Regions from separate parts of the Homo sapiens genome. Here region 1 is linked to region 2. Evidence: promoter capture Hi-C in human tissues and cell types (Jung and others, 2019). All regions are on one chromosome and are shown on one strand. The core of a region is centred on a gene start or on the middle of the fragment in contact, and the rest is flanking DNA. Distances in the headings are between cores, read along the strand shown.

The links. Contacts are between HindIII fragments. The study calls those that stand out against the background at their distance.
Region 1: a fragment that was not itself captured here is called in contact with the fragment with the promoter of TRAF6 in region 2 in 1 of the 25 tissues and cell types used here (H1 embryonic stem cells).

The regions. Positions count from the first base shown.
Region 1 is chr11:36,540,202-36,546,534 of GRCh38, forward strand. It overlaps a transcript of RAG1 not described here. Among named protein-coding and RNA genes, the nearest start is that of RAG1, 25 kb to the right of the region's middle. The HindIII fragment of the contact is 4,252 bases long and covers 2,924-6,333 here.
Region 2 is chr11:36,507,471-36,513,998 of GRCh38, forward strand. It overlaps TRAF6 (TNF receptor associated factor 6), which reads right to left and starts at 2,802. Exons shown (of 7, transcript NM_004620.4): 1 at 2,578-2,802. It also overlaps a transcript of RAG1 not described here. RefSeq lists an enhancer at 2,621-2,670. The HindIII fragment of the contact is 11,968 bases long and covers 1-6,528 here.

The DNA.
Region 1 (6,333 bases), core at 3,800-6,299, 35 kb after region 2:
TCTGCAAACCTGCCTACTGAAATTGCCTGCTGTAATCTTCAACCAGTTTTGTCTAATGGTTTCTGAGACAACCTGCTACAGCTCTAAGATTAATTTTACTCACCGATGTCACTTGCCAATTGAAGCTTGCCAGACCCCCAGAGCCTTACTAGTGCCAGTGAACTTTTCAAAGAGCAATACTTAACATTTCTTTTCTTTATTTTATTTATTTATTTATTTTTGCGACGGAGCCTCTCTCTGTCATCCAGGCTGGAGTGCAGTGGCATGATCTCGGCTCACTGCAAGCTCCACCTCCCGGGTTCACGCCATTCTCCTGCCTCAGCCTCCCGAGTAGCTGGGACTACAGGCGCCCGCCACCACGCATGGCTAATTTTTTTTGGATTTTTAGTAGAGACGGGGTTTCACCGTGTTAGCCAGGATGGTCTCGATCTCCTGACCTCGTGATCTGCCCTCCTTGGTCTCCCAAAGTGCTGGGATTACAGGCGTGAGCCAACGCGTCTGGCCTCTTTTCTTCGTTTTTTAAAATGAAACCTCCAATCTTCTCTTTGTTCTTTGGACATACCAAAGACTGCCCAGTCTCCGTGTATGGTCCGAACTGTGGTTCTTTCTTCCCAAATAAAATCTTACATTTCAGAGATTCGTCTCTCCATTTTTTATTTTGACTTCAACAGTTCATTGGTTTAAATCCTCAAATTGGACTCAGGGGCACAGTGATCTTGATCCTTTCTGTTTCCTACCTAGGTTTAAACGTGAATTCAGATTCCACAAGGTGTGAGAAAAGAGGGATTGGGGCCCTCTCCCAACAGACATGAGTATTTAGGAGTCCCCAGTTCCGGTTTCCACATGACATGATATGATGGTCTGTTGTTTTCCTCAGGGACCTAGAGGCAGATGTAGACAAATAGCAGGTGAGGAGGAAGGGTGGTGCTGAGCTGTAAACAACAGCTGCGGGCTGTAAACAATGGAGCTATATTAAGAAAGTCCTGCATCTGCAGCATTCGGTTCAATCCTGCCACCCACTGGGCGTACTCCTGAATTGACTTTCCATTGTCAGCTGATCAGTGACAGATGTGAAATGACTCGTTACACACACAGGTCACATTGGGAGGATTCTTAGACGTCATATTCTTTGGTGCTTCACAAAGTCTTACTGTGGCACATGAAATGATTTCAGATGGTGCACAAGATGATTTCACATGGACATATATTAATGTTGAACACACATTAACACTGAATTGCATTTCCAATATTCTTTCCATCTTTTTGGTTTTGGGATGGAGAAAGTATCTGTTTAGTGCTGGTAGGCCTTTTGACACTTCTGTTTATATTCACTAAAGGAAATAATGTATACAGTGGTCCATATCCAAGACAAAGTGCCTTGAATTGGCTTAGGTCAGCAAACGACATAAGAAACAGGAAATACTAGGCCCTTGCTTGGATAGCCGATGCCTGCTTGTTGGTCTCTCCCTTCTCCCTGTTGCCCCCACTCTTAGTTGCCCTCACCCGAACCAAAAGTTTAGTCTAATATAAAAGCGTGCTAGCCTGCAAAGTAGTTCATTCCGTCTGTTCTTAATCAGCCTTCCCAGCTACTTAGGTTATAAGTCAAATACTTGAAGAGCTTCTGAGCTAACTAGGATTGCAATACATTGTGGGCTGCAACAAAATGCAGCAAGACGACCCTAAAAAAAAACCACCTACCGCCCCTACCCAACTATCAATAGGCAATATCTGGGAAGATTGTGACCCCATAGTACTCAGCCTATGAGGAGCAGTGGGAGGGACCTGCGCACTAGGGGATAAATTGCTTGTTGAAACTGTGCTGGGTGTGCCTGCCTATCAGACACCCGATCTTGCAAGACTGTCATTAAAAGTCTCACTTTCACTGTTCTTGAGGCCTCTGAGTTCATTGTTAGGGTTTGGACGGATGAGTTTGTTTCTCACATTCACTATCTTCCCTCTCTTTATTAGAGAGCATTCTCTCTCCTACATTGTATTTCTTCTACTACCATTTGATATCATATAAAAGTCCTTCTTTATATGAATTAATTTAGCTGAACAAAGTGAGTCTCTTTAAAGACAAATATTAAATACATAACGCTGCAGGTGATATCTGGATAAGGGAATGATTGTGAAGGTTGTACACAGGGTAACATAGAGATGCTTGCATAGTTTATTATCGACCTCTATCTCCTCCTCTTTCCTTCTACACACAAAGAAACTGAGGCCTCTTTTGGAATGTTTTGCTGAGAGGCTGAGTTGGGAAAGTTGGGATAGACAGTGAACTAGTGGCATCTGTTATGACCAAGATGCCCAAGAGGAAGAGGGGCTGCCCCAGAAGTAACCAGAGCTTGGCATCTCTATGGATCTGGATCATGCCTGCTGTACAGAAAAGGTCTCTGACCAGCCACTCCTTTGCTTGTTCCCAGAAGACAGGGAGAAGAACAGTGAGAGGAGAATTGGGAGTGTGGCCTCCGAGGCATTGAATGGTACAGAAAACAGGGGACTTTCAGTCATATGAACTAGCCGTGCCACATGCAGGCAATAAAGCTTGGTGTCAATGGTTGTTGAGCTTGGGGCGATAAACCATGTTTTGAATTTTTTCCTTTTAATCAATCACATAATTATTGCTCTATATGTTATATACCTCCAGTGTAAAAAAAATAGAAAAAAACCTTATATATAAAATTCACATGCAAAATATTTACAGATCTCAGTTGTGCAAATAAGTCCATTTCTTTATTTTCCTAAGCCAGCTGAAACTCCATTAGGAATCCCCATCAACTCAAAGGCAGGAAAAATTAATCTAATCAGTGCCTCGTTTTCTCTGTCACTTCAGATTTGAACGAGTCACTACTGAATCTTCTTCCCCCATCTCCTTCTTCCTTGGTGACTCCTACATTTCTGACATTATGGCTCAGGGATGGCAGATAGGGAACTGGCTAACATCCTCTCAGGGTCTCAGATGCTGGCTGACCCTCTCAGGGTCTTAGGTATAGCCTTGATTAGACCCCAGTCTCTGTGGACATCACCCTGGTCATCTGACTGTACCTCTGCCTCCTCCTTCTCTTTGGAAGTGTGAGGTTGCCTCTCAACTACTTCTGTGTCCTTTTCACCAGTCCAGCATCAGAGAACCCACGGTATGCTTGCCTCATCCCTCTGATGCCCTGTACCCCACACGGCTTTACTGCCTCTGCTGCTGCCAGGCCACATGCCGGCATGCCATAGCAGAACTGTGGGGTTTGCTCACTTTTCCAGGCTCTACCCGAAAAATCAGACCCTCCCCGCCCTCAGATCCCAAAGCTTATTGGGAGGTGGTTCTGTTGTGGCACTTACCCTGCTCTTGACTGAGTTAGAAGTGCAGCTTGGGCACAGGGGCCCTTCTTGGAGGCACTTACCAGCCTCTCTCTTGTTTGGCCTCTCTCTTCCATCTCTCCTTCTAACCTCCTTCTCTAGCTCAAGAAATATTGATAACATGCGGGAATAAAATGACTTACCTCTTAGTCCAGATTTATTATTTATGGAATACACTAAATTCAGAAGGCTTAGGTTAAGGCAAATCAACCTTTTTGGGGGGAACTTCTTTTCTGTGTAATGAGTGTCAACAGACTAATTAGAAGATGCTATAAAGATTTGTGGACAAGTTTTTATGTGGACATAGTATTCATTTCTCTGGGATAAATGGCCAGAAGCGCAATTCCTTGGTTTTATGGTAGTTGCATGTTTGATGTTTTCCAATTTAATAGACATTAAAAAAGAGTTTCAAAGATACAGAGAAATTGAGAAGATAGTACAGAGAATTCTCTCATAGCCCTACCTGGTTTCCTTTATTAACAAATTATATACATATGGAACATTTTCCACAATTCATGAACCAGTAAACTTCCTTTAGCCACTTTTTTAGGGTAGGTACAATTGGCTGAATAATGGCCCTCAGAGATATCAGGGCTTAATCCCTGGGACCTATAAACGTGGCAGAGATGGCAGATGTGATCAAGTTAAAGATTTTAAGTTAAGGAGGTTGTCCTGCATCATCCAGATGGACCCCAAATACAATCCTAAGTGTTCTTATCAGAGAAGAAGGGGGATTATTAACATAGAAGGGTCGACAAGGAGACTACTGAGGCAGAGATTGGAGTGGTGTAGCCACTCTGATAGAACACAAAGAAAGCAGCTCTAGGGGCTGGAGATAAGGAACGAATTCCACCCTAGAACCTTTCAAAATTGAAATGGTACCAGAGGAATCTAAGAATTTCTCTCTAGTCTAGTTCCCCTTTCTGAAGACAGCCAGTGTTAACAGGTCCTTGTGCATCTTTCCAGAGATATCTGATGCATATATAAGCAAAATATATGTTTCTATATTTTCCCTCTCTTTTCACCCAAATGATGTCATGTACATTGTTCTGTATCCTGCTTTTTCCCACTAACAATAACTCTTGAAGACCGTTGCATTTAAGTAGTTTTCTTTTTCTTTTTAATGGTTGATGTGGTCTGGCTACATGTCCTCACCCAAATCTCGTCTAGAATTGTAATCCTCATGTGTCGAGGGAGGGACCCTGTGGGAGGTGATTGGATCATGGCGGGGCTTCCCCCATTCTGTTCTCATGATTGTGAAGGAGTTCTCATGAGATCTGATGGTTTAAAAGTGTGTGGCGGATCCCCCCTCGTTCTCTCTTTTCTGCAACCATGCTTCCCCTTTGCCTTCTGCCATGATTGTAAGTTTCCTGAGGCCTCTTCAGCCGTGTGGAACTGTGAGTCAATTAAACCTCTTCTCTTTGTAAATTACCCAGTCTCAGGTAGTTCTTTATAGCAGCGTGAGAATGGACTAATACAATGGTTGCATTACATTCCGTTGAAAAGATAGATTAGAATTTATTTATCCAGTGACAACTTTAGCTGTTCTCAGTATTTTATTATTACAAACAGAACTTCAATAAATAATTTTTTACACATATCTTTTTTTGCATTAAAGTATATCTGAATATTCTTGGGATAAATTAAATAGATGTGGAATTTGTAGATCAAACAGTGAGTGCATGGGCTGAATTGTGTCCCCCCAAAATTCACATGTTAAAGCTTTAACCTCCAATCTGTCTGTGTTTAAAGATAGGATATATGAAGAGGGAGTTAAGATTAAGGGAGGTTATAAGGGTGGGCTTGAATTCAATGTGACTGGTGTCACATTTGTAAGAAGAGAAAGAGACACCAAGAAAGTGAGTCATAGAGAAAAGACCATATGAGGGCACAGCAAGATGGTCATCAGCAAGCCAAGGAGAGAGGTCTCACCAGAAACCAATTCTCCTGACACTGTGACCTCCAGAACTGTGAGAAAATAAATTTCTGTTATTTAGGCCACCCAGACTGTGATATTTTGTCACAAAAGCCCTAGAAGACAAACAGTGAATATGTAATTTTGACAATTATTGCCAAATTGCTGTCCATACAAGTTGGATCACTTTGTACTTTTTCCAGCTTCTGTTCTTCTATTGGCAGACATTTAGGCCATTTTCAACAGATTATAACAAACCATGATGCAATTAACATTATAAACTTAAAAAAATAAAGTTTAAGCTGTGTCTTAGAGATTCTGGTACGTTGTGTCTTTGTTCTCATTGGTTTCAAAGAACTTATGTCTTAATTTCATTACTTATCCAGCAGTCATTCAGATGCAGGTTGTTCAGTTTCCGTGTAGTCGTGCAGTTTTGAATGAGTTTCTTAATCCTGAGTTCTAATTTGATTGCACTGTGGTCTCAGAGACTGTTTGTTGTGATTTCCATTCTTTTGCATTTGCTGAGGACTGTTTTACTACCAATTATGTGGTCAATTTTAGAATAGGTGCTAAGAAGAATGTATAGTCTGTTGATTTGGGGTGGAGAGTTCTGTAGATGTCTATTAGGTCCACTTGGTCCAGAGCTGAGTTCAAATCGGGAATATCCTTGTTAATTTTCTGTCTTGTTGATATAATATTGACAGTGGGGTGTTAAAGTCTCCCACTATTATTGTGTGGGATTCTAAGCCTCTTTGTAGGTATCTAAGAACTTGCTTATGAATCTGGGTGCTCCTGTATTGACTGCATATATATTTAGGATAGTTAGCTCTTCTTGTTGCACTGATCCCCTTACCATAATGTAATGCTCTTCTTTGTATTTTTTGATCTTTGTCGGTTTAAAGTCTGTTTTATTAGAGACTAGGATTGCAACCCCTGCTTTCTTTTTGCTTTCCATTTGCTTGGTAAATCTTCCTCCATCCCTTTATTTTGAGTCTATGTGTGTCTTTGCACATGAGATGGGTCTCCTGAATATGCCACATCGATGGGTGTTTACTCTTTATCCAATT
Region 2 (6,528 bases), core at 1,552-4,051:
TTATACATACATAAATGTATATATGTATATATACGTGTATACATGCATATATACATGTATATATGTATATATACGTGTATACACGTATATATACATGTATATGTATACATACACGCGCGTGTATATATGTATACATACACGCGCGTGTATATATGTATACATACACGCGCGTGTATATATGTATACATACACACGCGCGTGTATATATGTATACATACACGAGCGTGTATATATGTATACATACACGCGCGTGTATATATGTATATATACACATACATACATGTATTATACATATAAACATATACAAATATATGTATATATTATATATGTGTATATATACACATATATACATGTATTTTATATATGTGTATATATATACATATATATACACACACTTTTTTTTTTGTCAGGGTCCTGCTCTATTGCCCAGGCTGGAGTGCAGTGGCACGATCATGGCTCATTGCAGCCTCCACCTCTTGGGCTCAAGTGATCCTCCCACCTCAGTCTCCCAAGTAGCTGGGACTACAGGTGTGTGCCACCAAGCCTGGTTAATTTTTGTATTTTTTTGTAGAGACAGGATTTTGCCATATTGCCCAGGCTGGTCTCAAGCTATCCTCCCACCTCAGCCTCCCGAAGTGCTGGGATTACAGGCATGAGCCATTATGCCAGGCCTAAAATAAAAATTTCTTACAGCCTCTATTCTAGTATACTTACGTGGCTTTCTACAGGAATTAATGAAGGGATGGAACAAAGTATAAATTGTTCCTTAACTTGTATGTTAAGAGTGTCCTGACTGTAATCCCCTTTTGCAGTTGCGAAATCTAGTATGATAAGCACTACCTTAAAGATTGTGGAACGTTAACTACTGCTAACTTATTTCAGCCGTAAAATGAGTAGTATTGAAAGCAGCCTTGTCATAAATCAAGACTTAAATTCACGAATTAGTATCTGGGTGTACATTATAATCAAAAGAGAATACTGTAACATGTCTTGGGGGAGGGGGAAGTAGGATAATCCACAAAAAGTTTGTCCTCCAAGGCAGATGCTAAGGAGGTATGTGCCAAGTTAAAAGAAGTCAACAAGTTATGTCTTAAATGAGTCAATTTTAAGTCAACTGAAATTCATACGAGTAAACATGTAACTTATTGAAGTAAAACCATGTAAAGAAAATATGAGAAATTATCTTTAATGTGCTACTAGCTTTAGAAACAGAAACTGTTTACCAGCTTCTTAAATTTCTAAAGTGTGAAGACCTACAAATGTACTCCAATGGCCAAGAGATGCTGCAAAATACTCAACTGTTGTGCCTTAACTTTGAATCCAAATTCAAGGGGCATTCCCCTTCCTGGGCACTATTTACTCTGCTCCAGGAGGCAAGGATTTGAACTTCTCTCCAAATCTAAGTGTCCAAAAGTTTACCGGCATCACATGCCCAAATTTATCACAGAGAAGAGCTCATGTTACAATTCTGAAATATTGTGGTGCATGCAGGCTGAAACTCTGATGTGATCCTGTACCCACCACATGCCGGACTCCTTCCTAGAGTCACAAAAGAGGCCACATTGTTCCTGCCTATACACTCAACCTCAAAATTTGAAAAGCCCCTCTCCCTTCCCTAGTAATCAAAGGAGAATGAATGAAATGATAGCGGCCAAGTTCACAAGGCCAACACAGAATTTCTTTACCAGTTTTTCTCGTTTCTACATGGAACCTGTGTAACAAGACATTCAGTAATAGTAATCTGCTCTCAGAGAAAGAAACAATTAAATACCATACAGCGAAGCTGCTAATACTTTATTTAGGTGCTTTCTGTTCACATTCAAGACAGTCCTAACTCAGCTGGAGTTCCCCTTAAGCCAAATACTAGGAACAGCTTTATCAACCCGGCGTCTGGAACAATCGCTCGAACTACCGAGTTTAGGGGCGGGGGAGAAAACATTCGTGTCATCTGAGCCTTTTTTTTTTTTTAAACTCGCTGCCTGAGACTTCTATAGAGTTCAACAGGGAATCCAAAAATAGCTTTCCCATGACAGTGACAGCCGGAGTCGCCAGGAACGTAAAGGATTTTTTAAAAATTTAAGCAGGTGTTTGCTCCAAGGAGCGGACAACTGCAGGAGGCAATTTCCTTATCTGGGAAGGGGAAAAAGCGGAGTTGAGGGGAGCGAGGTTGAGTAAGGCGACGCGGGGTTTTTTAGGGGGTGGAATGAGCGAGGAAGAGGAGGCCTGGGGAGCAGAGGTCAGGGGACAGGGAACGGTGTCCCCGACCTGTGGGAAGCGTGGGGACAGAGGCTGCGTCCCGACCTGCAGGAAGCGAGGGGCAGGGAACGGTGTCCTCGACCAGCGGGAAGCGAGAGGACAGGGGCGGCGTCCCCGACCCGTGGGAAGCAAGCGGGTAGGGGCGGCGTCCCTGACCTGTGAAAAGCGAAGGGACAGGGGAGGCGTCCCCGACTGGTGGGAAGCGAGGGGACAGGGACTGCGTCCCCGACCTGCCGAGAGCGAAGGGGCGGGGGGCGGCGTCCCTGACCGCTGGGAAGCGAGGCGGCGGCCGCCAGGAGGAGGCGCCTGAAGGAGACTCACCGTTCTAGTGCGCGGGGAGGCCGAACCAGGAGGGCAGGGCTCCCCCACCAACCGCACGACTCCGCTCAGCCAAGGCGCTGGTAGAGGACGGACACAGACACTGCGCGCCGAGACGAGGCTGCTTGGACGGCAAACTCTGGATCCAGTGGGAGCCTTCGCCACCTTCGCTGGCCGCCCGCAGGCCAAGCCCCAGCTGCGGACGCCACTGCTTCCGCCTTCTCTGCTGGCTGCGGGGAGCGAGGGGCAGGGAGCGCGCCGGGGAGGAGACAGAGCGGCCGAGTTCGGAGAGAGTGCCCCCTGGCGGTGATCCTCCAGGCGGACTGTGGCGCGGGCCGGGCGGCGCCCCCAGCCCCGCAGCCTGGCTTTCTTCCTGCTCGGGTGTCCCACCTGGGAATTCGTTGCACCGCACAGCCGAACCCGAGTGTGTCAATGGGTGTGTGTTGGAATGAGGATGGCGACGAGAAGATCCCTCCCGGAATAACTTAATTTGGTGAGCAGTGGCGACAGTAGTAATCCCAAACTGCGCTTTTATAGCACCCCTCTCCAAGCAGGAGAAAACCCCAGCTGGGCTAGATCGCTTGACCTTCAGGAATTCTTAAACCCCTCCCCAGCTCCACCCTCCTTGCCCAGGAAGTTTCTGCGATCCATAGAACCCTCTATTATTACCTGCTCTTCCCCTTCATCCGGTCCAAGGGAGTCAGCCCTTGCCTTAAATATTTCTTTGAATTTCCTGCCAAGAACACCAGCGCTTTGTCTTTCTCTGTCATGGGAAAACTATTTTAAATTCCCTGTTTAACTGGTCATAAACGTCTAGAGAATGTACCACGCGTTTTGCTGGAGAAGCACAAAAGAGTTTCATCCACCTCTGCATATTTGGTTCATCGTCCACCTCTTAGGGGAGGTTTTCCAGGATAGTAGTCATGCGTATGTATCCTGAAGCCAGAATGCTTGGTTCCAATCCGGTTTTTCCTACAATAAATGTGTGATTCAGGTAAAATACTTAATCTGTACTTGTTTCAGTTTTCTCATCTCGTATTAACATGGGGATAATAATAGTATCTACCTCACAGGGTTGTTGGAAGGATGAGATAAAATATGTAAAGAAATTATTTAAAACTATCTGGCCAGGCACAAATAGGCTCATGCCTATAATCCCAGTACTTTGGGAGGCTAAGGCAGGAGGATCACTTGAGGCCAGGAATTTGAGACCAGCCTGGGCAACATAGTGAGACCCCATCTTTACACAAAATTTAAAAATTACCTGGGTGTGGTGGTGCATATCTGTAGTCTCGGCTACTCTGGAGGCTGAGGTGGGAGGATGGCTTGAGCCCTGGCAGTCAAGGCTACAGTAAGCCATGATTGCACCACTGCATTCCAGCCTGGGTGACAGAGTGAGACCCTGTCTCAAGGAACAAACGAACAAACAAATAAACCCAAAACTAGGACATAGTATGGGCTCAATAAATGTTACCAATACTATATGTCCTACTTTCTGGCTGCCAATATTCATTAAAAATGCTTCTCTTTTTAAGAAGAATTTATCACTGGTTCTCAGGTTCTGTCAACCCCCTTTTAAAAGATTGTATTTTGAAACACTTAAGACATAAAAAGAGCACAAACATCTGTGTGCTCACCACCCAGCTTTAAAAAATAAAACATTGCCAGCCTTTGTGTATCCCTCCCTAGAAGCTCCTCTTAAAAATTAAATCTCTTATGGGATGGAAGAAAAGATCATTATATGAAATTGAGAGCTGGAGAAAAGGAAGAGCAAGAGAATCAGAGTTCCCTCCACTTCTTAGTGTGAGCTCTGGGGCAGGTTACATAACCTCCATGAACTACAATGACCAAAAACTATAAAAAAGGGGATAATGTCTACCTTACCAGGCTTTTGTCAGTATAAAATAATAAAAATCTATTGTGAGAGACTCCAGCACCAGGCTTTCAAAAAGATTAGGTGTTCTGTGTATGTTTCTTTACATTGTTTTCATAAGTGCCCTCAAGGGGCCTTTTCCTACTCCTTCAAATCCAATTTATTCAATATAGGAGAGAGTTTTAGTGCTCATCCATGCCTTGGGCACACAGGAAACTTACAAATACCATTTCCCTTTGCAATCAGGCAGGGCCACGTGACTAGTTCTGGCCTGTGAGCTATGACGAGAAGGATGCATATCATTCCTAGGTCAAAGCGTTTTATTTTCATTGCAAGACTGTTTCCCCTGTGTGCAACCAAGGAGCAAAGGGCAACTACAAGAGGGAAGAGATGTATCACTCAGTTGATGTATGAAGGGCAGTTGCCTTGGAAAGTCAATCCACCTGCATTGGACTTACGAGAGCAGGAAACAAACGCCTGTTATTTTAAGCCATTGAGATATTGGGATTGTCTTTTCTGCTGCATAGCTAAGCCTACTTTATGCACAGTTCTTTCTTGAATTCTTTCCTGATACTCGAAATAAGAAAGCCAAAGTTCTACTCCTGCTTCTGACTCTCATTGAAATTGGGACCTGGTCAGATGTCCTTATCTATAGAGTTGTAATGAAATCTATCCTGTCTTCTTTTCAGAGCTGTTATGAGTTCAAATGAGGTCATATGGAAAGATACCTTGCAAACTAGGAAGTCCTACGCAGATGGAAATAATTGAATATTCCTATTAGTAAAGTTACCTATATATAGCAACCACAATGATCAGGTTTCCTGAAAAGCTGCTATTAGATTGGTGCAAAAATAATTGTGGTCTTTGCCTTTACTTTTAATGGAAAAAATGCCAATTACTTTTGTACCAACCTAATAATTTAAAATATTTTGTCCAGTTGTCCTTATAAGTAAATCAAACATGAATAAAGATATAGTCTCCATATCTTCTATAGTTTCAATGCGTCCCCTAAATTTCATGCGTTGGAAACTTGATCCCCAATGTGGTGGTTTTGGGAGGTGGGACCTAATGAGAGGCATTTGGGTCGTGGAAGGACACTCTTCATGAATGGATCAATGCCATTATCATGCGAGTGAATTCGTTATTCTGGGAGTAGGTTCCTTATAAAGGGACAAGTTTGGTTCAGCCCCGTCTTTCTCTCCATCTCTTTCTCTCTTGCCTTCACTTTGCCCTCCAACATAGGATGACACAGCAAGAAGGCTCTTGCAAGATACCAGCCCCTTGAGTTTGGACTTCCCAGCCTCCAGAACTAAGCCAGTAAATTTCTGTTCATTATAAATTACCCAGTCAGTGTTATGCTGTTATAGCAGCACAGATTGAACTAAGACAATATCATTCCTGGGTTGCTGTTTCTCACATCCTATTTGAAAAATGAAATAGGAAATAGTTTTACACAGCTGAAGGTAGAGTTGGGAAGGTAAAACTTCCCCAAACATTTGGAAATAAGATGGCTCTCTACAAGTTGAATTATAAAATTATGACACAATTCATTAGCTCAAAATACACTTATTGAACAACCATTATAAGTGTGTGTGGCAGCCTGCCTTGAAGATGGTATTTATGCCCACGTGTAGTTTGCTTCCACAATACATAGGGCTGCCTCATGTAACAGTATATTAGTCTGTTCTCACACAGCTGATAAAGACATACCTGAGACTGGGTAGTTTATAAAGTAAAAGAGGTTTAATGGACTCACAGTTCCACATGACTGGGGAAGCCTCACAATCATGGTGGAAGGCAAAAGGCATGTCTTACATGGCAGCAGACAAGAGAGAGAATGAGATCTAAGTGAAGGGGGTTTCCCTTTATAAAACCATCAGATCTTGTGAGACTTATTCACTACTACAAGAACAGTATGGGGGAAACTGCCCCTGTGATTCAGTTATCTCCCACTGGGTCCCTCCCACAACACGTGGAAATTAGGGGAGCTACAATTCAAGATGAGATTTGGGTGGGGACAGAGCCAAACCATATCAAACAGGATATTGTGGAAATGACGGAATGTGCCTCCCTAGACTGGG